Regions from separate parts of the Homo sapiens genome. Here region 2 is linked to region 1. Evidence: promoter capture Hi-C in 16 types of primary human blood cells and fetal thymus (Javierre and others, 2016). All regions are on one chromosome and are shown on one strand. The core of a region is centred on a gene start or on the middle of the fragment in contact, and the rest is flanking DNA. Distances in the headings are between cores, read along the strand shown. Region 1 holds the start of ZNF18 (zinc finger protein 18). Region 2 holds the start of WSB1 (WD repeat and SOCS box containing 1).

Evidence for each region. The method cuts DNA at HindIII sites, captures the fragments that hold promoters and counts their contacts. A CHiCAGO score of 5 or more calls a contact.
Region 2: a contact is called between the fragment with the promoter of WSB1 here and the fragment with the promoter of ZNF18 in region 1, in 3 of 17 cell types (total CD4 T cells, non-activated CD4 T cells and activated CD4 T cells). The highest score is 12.9, in total CD4 T cells.

What each region holds. Positions count from the first base shown.
Region 1 is chr17:11,996,161-11,999,005 of GRCh38, forward strand. ZNF18 (zinc finger protein 18) reads right to left here and starts at 1,315. Exons shown (of 7, transcript NM_001303281.2): 1 at 1,271-1,315. RefSeq lists a silencer at 1,014-1,463 and enhancers at 1,396-2,379, 1,494-1,733, 1,804-1,883. The HindIII fragment of the contact is 4,230 bases long and covers 1-2,510 here.
Region 2 is chr17:27,292,650-27,295,636 of GRCh38, forward strand. WSB1 (WD repeat and SOCS box containing 1) reads left to right here and starts at 1,465. Exons shown (of 9, transcript NM_015626.10): 1 at 1,465-1,786. The coding sequence starts at 1,747. It overlaps MIR4522 (microRNA 4522), which reads right to left and starts at 1,347; the gene lies at 1,261-1,347. RefSeq lists enhancers at 1,194-1,243, 1,614-1,673, 1,684-1,743 and a silencer at 1,284-1,493. The HindIII fragment of the contact is 5,795 bases long and covers 1-2,381 here.

The DNA.
Region 1 (2,845 bases), core at 65-2,564:
ATACTGAGTGACAATGACAGCATTATCAAACCACCTGAAAAGCAGCTTTAGCTCAGAGGTAAACCTACAGTTTCAAATAACATCTTAAAAAACGAATAAATATATTTTTAAAAATACCTTGCTTTGTAAATCCAACCTATTTGGCTCAAGAGTTTCAAATAACAAGCGGCAAGATTTTAGATAGCAAGATACCGACCTGTAAACTTACTGCAATTTATCTGTTTCCTAAATTAAGATAGCAGTTTAGATAATATTTAAGAGAAATGACATTTTGGAAAAACTACAGATTTTATAAAATACTTAAATCTTTTGTTAGTAATATTATACTCCCAGGTAGTGTGTAAGAAAAATGTCTCGATTATTCAAAATTAAATTACTTTATATAGTATTAAAAATTTAATAGAGTTTATATTCCGATAACCTCATGAGGAACTGCCCCCATTAGTTATGAAAAAAAAATAAGGTTGTCTGTTATACCTGTTATTAAACCTTTAACAAATAGAATGAATTTTTAAAAGTGCATTCTAGGTGTAATATACACAAGTGGTTACATACATGGTTACATATATAAGTAACCATTTGTTAAGCACCTACTACGTATCGGCTCATTATTAAGCTCGGTTCATGTATTTCCAATTCCCACAATTACCCTGGTGTACAGATCAGGAACCTCCGAGGCTCACAAGTGGCAGCCAGATTAACCCAGGAAGCTCTAAAGCCTTTGCTTTGGGGAGAACTGCCAACGTCTGGTGATTTGTTGGGGCGTTTTCTGGTTGTCACAAGCAGCTAGGGGAACTGGCATTTAGTGCTCGAGGCCAGGGCAGCGCTGCTCATTGGATATGTATTCTCCACCATGCGCCCCCCAAATGCCGACTGCACTCTGATGAGAGAGGGAGAGACTCCAGGCATCATCCCATCGGGTTTCCTCTTCCAGAGACTCATTTTCAGCCCTTAGGGGAAGACAGCGGGGAGGAGCCCGTTTTCGGTCCCAGTGCAGAGACCCGGCCGGTCCCGCGGGGCGCAGAGGCGCAGGAATGCAGAGCCGGGACGGGGTTCACACATCCCCCCGCACCCACGGTCCACTCCCAGCCATGGCTGCCCCGGCCCCGCACTCGCCACGTCCCCCGCGCGCTCCCAGACGCATGGGCAAGGGAGCCCGCTGGCCCCTCCGTAGCTCCGGGGTGCCCAGCTGAGTCAGGTGCGGACGCAGATAGCGCAAGGCCTGACCCCGAGCGGCCGGAGGCCGGGACCGCCCCGCAAGCGCGCTCACCTCGGCCCGCGGCGCCGGCTCCGGGCGCACTTCCGGGAGCTGGGTGGCTGCGCGCGCCTCAGGCGGCAGGCGAACGACGTGCGGCACCGGGCGGAGCTAGGGGGCGGGGGCGGAGCTGATACCGAAGCTCCTATTGGCCGTCGGGGACGCCCCGCCTCTCTCTGGCGTTGCAGCCCAGGAGCCTCCACCGACATGGCAGCGAGGTTCCCGAGCCAACGCCATCCTCCGTTCCTTCCGTCACTCACTCACTAATCACTGTTCCTGAGTTCCTTCACTTCTCACCCGTCATTTATTGCGCACCTATTCTGTGCCAGGCACTCGGCCAAGCACTGCGAGGCCTTCAAAGATCATTTCTTTGTCTCTCCCAAACCCTTCCGCCCAGTCCCACCCGCAGAGCTGCAACGCTCTGCCATTATCCCTGATTCTTAACCGCCGCCTTTCTCCTTTCCGTTCTTGCCTCACTGGGCCTCCCTGAGACACTTGATTTGCCCCAACCTTCTTCCTCTGTCTTGGTTCTCCCACTCTCATCAGCTCTGCATCCCCTGGGTCCTCTCCCACTTCTCCCCATTCCGTTGGGGCTAGTCCAATGTGGTGCCATCCTCTTTCCACCTGCGTCTCTCTCTCTTCTCTCTCTCTCTCTCAACAAATGTCATCCCTGACTCTTCCCTTCTCCTTCCCTTTCCCACACGCCAACAATGGCTGAATCCTCTGATTTGACCTCATTGTCTCTCAGACACCTCACCCTCTCTCCCTTCTCACTATCCCTCCCTCGGCTCAGTTCCACACCATTTGTAATGGTCAAGACCTTCTTACCCTTTCCCCAGCGTCCAGTGTTGCCGGTTTCCAGGCCATCCTGTGCTGGGCCACGACATCAACTTGTGATACTAAGTTGCATTAATGGAAGTATCATGTCAAAGTTTGGGTGTTCCACCTTGGGCAACTGGCAAAGAGGAGGGTATTCAAAAAAAGCTGCCATGTTCCCCAATAACCTATGGAAATAAAATAAATAAAAAATAAAAATTTAAAGAAGAGCTGTCATTATCATAACATGTCCTGTACCTGTCATTATCATAACATGTCCTGTACCTGTCATTATCATAACATGTCCTGTACCTGTCATTATCATAACATGTCCTGTACCTGTCATTATCATAACATGTCCTGTACCTGTCATTATCATAACATGTCCTGTACCTGTCCCATGTTTACAAGAATTAAAGATCCTCCTCTGGAGAAATAAAGCTTGATGCGGGGATGGGATTACATCTTCATGTACCTGAAAAGTGACCAGCGGAAAAGGGATTCGACATGTTCTCTTAAGTCCCAGGGTCTGAACAAGATCCTATGTGTGAAACTACTGTTTCAGCCTGACATAGGTGGAAGTTTCTAGTCTTTTTTTTTTTTTTTTTTTTTTTTTGTATTTTTGGTGGAGACGGGGTTTCACCATGTTGGCCAGGCTGGTCTCGAACTCGTGACCTCAAGTGATCCACCCACCTTGGCCTCCCAAAGTGCTGGGATTACAGGCATGAGCCATGGCACCTAGCTGGACGTTTCTAACATTCATGTGATTGATGG
Region 2 (2,987 bases), core at 215-2,714, about 15 Mb after region 1:
TCCCAGCTACTCGGGAGGCTGAGGCAGGAGAATCGCCTGAACCCGGGAGGCAGAGGTTGCAGTGAGCCGAGTTGGCGCCACTGCACTCTGCTCTGGGAGACAGAGCAAGACTCCGTCTCAAAAAAAAAAATAAATAAATAACCAAAAAAAAAAAAAAGGAGGGGCGATGTTTTATTAAACATTTCGCTATTTGAAGAATTAATACACTCATGCAAAGAAAAGATGAAGTAAACATGCCCTACAGTGTTATCATTTGAGATCTCTTAAAAGCGGCTATGCAGCCGGGCGTGGTGGCTCACGTTGTAATCCCAGCACTTTGGGAGGCTGAGGCGGGCGGATCACTCGAGGCCAGGAGTTCGAGACTAGCCTGGCCAACAGGGTGAAACGCCCTCTGTACTAAAAATACAAAAATTACCCGGGCTTGGTGTCACATGCCTGTACAAATCCCAGCTACTGGGGAGGCTGAGGCAGGAGAATTGCCTGAACCCGGGAAACGGAGGTTGCAGTGAGCCAAGATCACGCCATTGCACCCCAGCCTGGGAGAAGCGAGACTCCGTCTCAAAAAAAAAAAAAAAAAAAAAAAAAAAAGCGGCTATGCAACACTCTACTCTGTCCCATGAATATCTGCCACATATTTGAATTCCCAGTCTTATACGCCCCAGGCCTTTGCAATGTTTAGGGTCCACACGAGAAGCCATTAAAATGCAAATACGTCATCTGTGACCGGGAACCAAGCTGGCATCTAGCAGATACTGACACATTTATCAGTCTGATGTGTGGACAACTAGGTGCCTCCCAGAGGCCTTCAGGTAAGGTGGAGGAAGGGCCAATTCTGAGCTGACACAGTGGGATCCATCTTGGCCAGGACAGTGGGATCCATCTTGGCCAGGACAAAGGCAGTCCAGAGAGGCCCCGCGGCGCGGTGCGGCGCGATCACGCCCGAGTCTCCTTCTCGTTCCCCTCGGCCCTTCCTAAAACCTGCTGGCTCAGGTCTGAACAATCGCAGCTGGACAGGTGGTGCACAACGATGTTAATTTTCATCCTGTCTTTTTCATCAGTGCATCCTTCAGTTCCCTATTACTTGTGGGCTGGGGAGTTGGCCAAATTGAGTGAAAACCTGAAATGTCTTTTTGTTCTTTTGGTTCAGCCAGTTTAAGTTCCATGCAATCTTTAAGCTAGGAGGCTAATAATAATACAATTCTCTGCTTGCCCTTTTCAAAGCCACTTCAGCTTATAAACTCCATATTAGACCATCCAGGCCCAGAAGACGCCACCGGCCTACAGGCAGAGTCAGCGGAACCAGCCTGGGCTGGATCTCCCCCTGCGAGGCCCCCAGGCAACGCCCGCGCCGGGCCGGGGAGATCACGTCCCGTGCGTCGGGAGGCGGGGGCCTCGGGCTGTGACGTCACGTGGCCGCGCCCCTGCCGCCCAGATATCTCCGGCGCCGCCCGCCATTTTGACTCCAGTGTCTCGTTTGCAGTCGGCGCTTTAGGGGAACTGTCTTCCTCCGCAGGCGCGAGGCTGGGTACAGGGTCTATTGTCTGTGGTTGACTCCGTACTTTGGTCTGAGGCCTTCGGGAGCTTTCCCGAGGCAGTTAGCAGAAGCCGCAGCGGCCGCCCCCGCCCGTCTCCTCTGTCCCTGGGCCCGGGAGGGACCAACTTGGCGTCACGCCCCTCAGCGGTCGCCACTCTCTTCTCTGTTGTTGGGTCCGCATCGTATTCCCGGAATCAGACGGTGCCCCATAGATGGCCAGCTTTCCCCCGAGGGTCAACGAGAAAGAGATCGGTGAGGATTGGGACCGTGGGTGGGCGCATGAGGGCCGAGGAGAGGCAGGGACTCCCCGGAGGAGGTTTGGGAGGAAGCGACTCCAAGTCTGAGGGAAGAGCTCCAGTGCGCCAGGGCCAGCCCACTAGCGAGGAGGAGGAAGCCGCCTCGGTGGGAGTTGGCTGAGGGGTAAACGGCACCGACGTGGATGCAGCACCTACTGTGCTCCCTCGCGGTTGCTGTGTGGCTGGGGCGGGCAAGGACCCCGGTTTCTTCGTCGGAGGTCCGCGCAGGGCTCTTGTCCTGGGAGTTCTTGGCTCAGGGCATGACTGTCGAGTGGACAGGGAAGGGCCACTCAGGGACTTTAGGTTTACAATGGGGAAAAGTAAACTTGTGGGTTGTAAGCGGTAATGAAAGGAGGGGGTCCTCGTGTGTACCAACCACTCTTAGATAGAAATGAGATGGAAGAGGTCCCAACAGCCTGGCAAAAGCAATACAGTATTTTTAAAATGGTGTGGCCTTAAGAAACGCAGCGGTTCGGGGGAGGAGACTTTTAGAATTATCTTTCAAACACTTAAGGGAGGAGCTGGGTGGTTGGGTGGAGTGACAGAAGGAAAGCTTTTGTGCGGAAGAGGAAACTCTGGAAAAGGCTTTTCTGGCTTAGTGTCTAGCCCTGGTCGGCTTAGTAAAGGGCAATTAGTGTTGAAGGTTGTGCGTCCACACCTACTTAGTGGCTCAGTGGAAAGCACGTCGCATTATTTAAATCCTCTTTTAAAGTAAAATAACTGGAACAACGTTTGACGGTGTTGGGGGGTGCTGTACATTGGCTGATAACACTTAGCAAACACTGATCTTACTGTGTGAAGTAATAATTAGCTGCGGCCGCTGAGCAGAGAGCATTTACATTTTCCTACTCTTGAAGTGAATGTGTGCCTTTACTAAGTACAAGGAGGAGTTATTTCTAGAGAAGGGAAGAGGCTGAAGTAGCCAAAACGCGCACTATTTTGTATGTGGGTGAATTTTTATATCTAGAAACAGCTGTTTTAGAATTCTGGACTTTTGTTGTCTTAGGGATGATTGATTAGGAAGGGACTTTAACCCTGGTTTTAATAACCATTTTTAAAGATACAAACACAGAAAAAAAAGGGAAAAAATTGTAGCAGAGTTCACACAGAAAAAAGAAAAAAAAAGATGCAAAGAACACAGAATTTGTGTCCAGTTA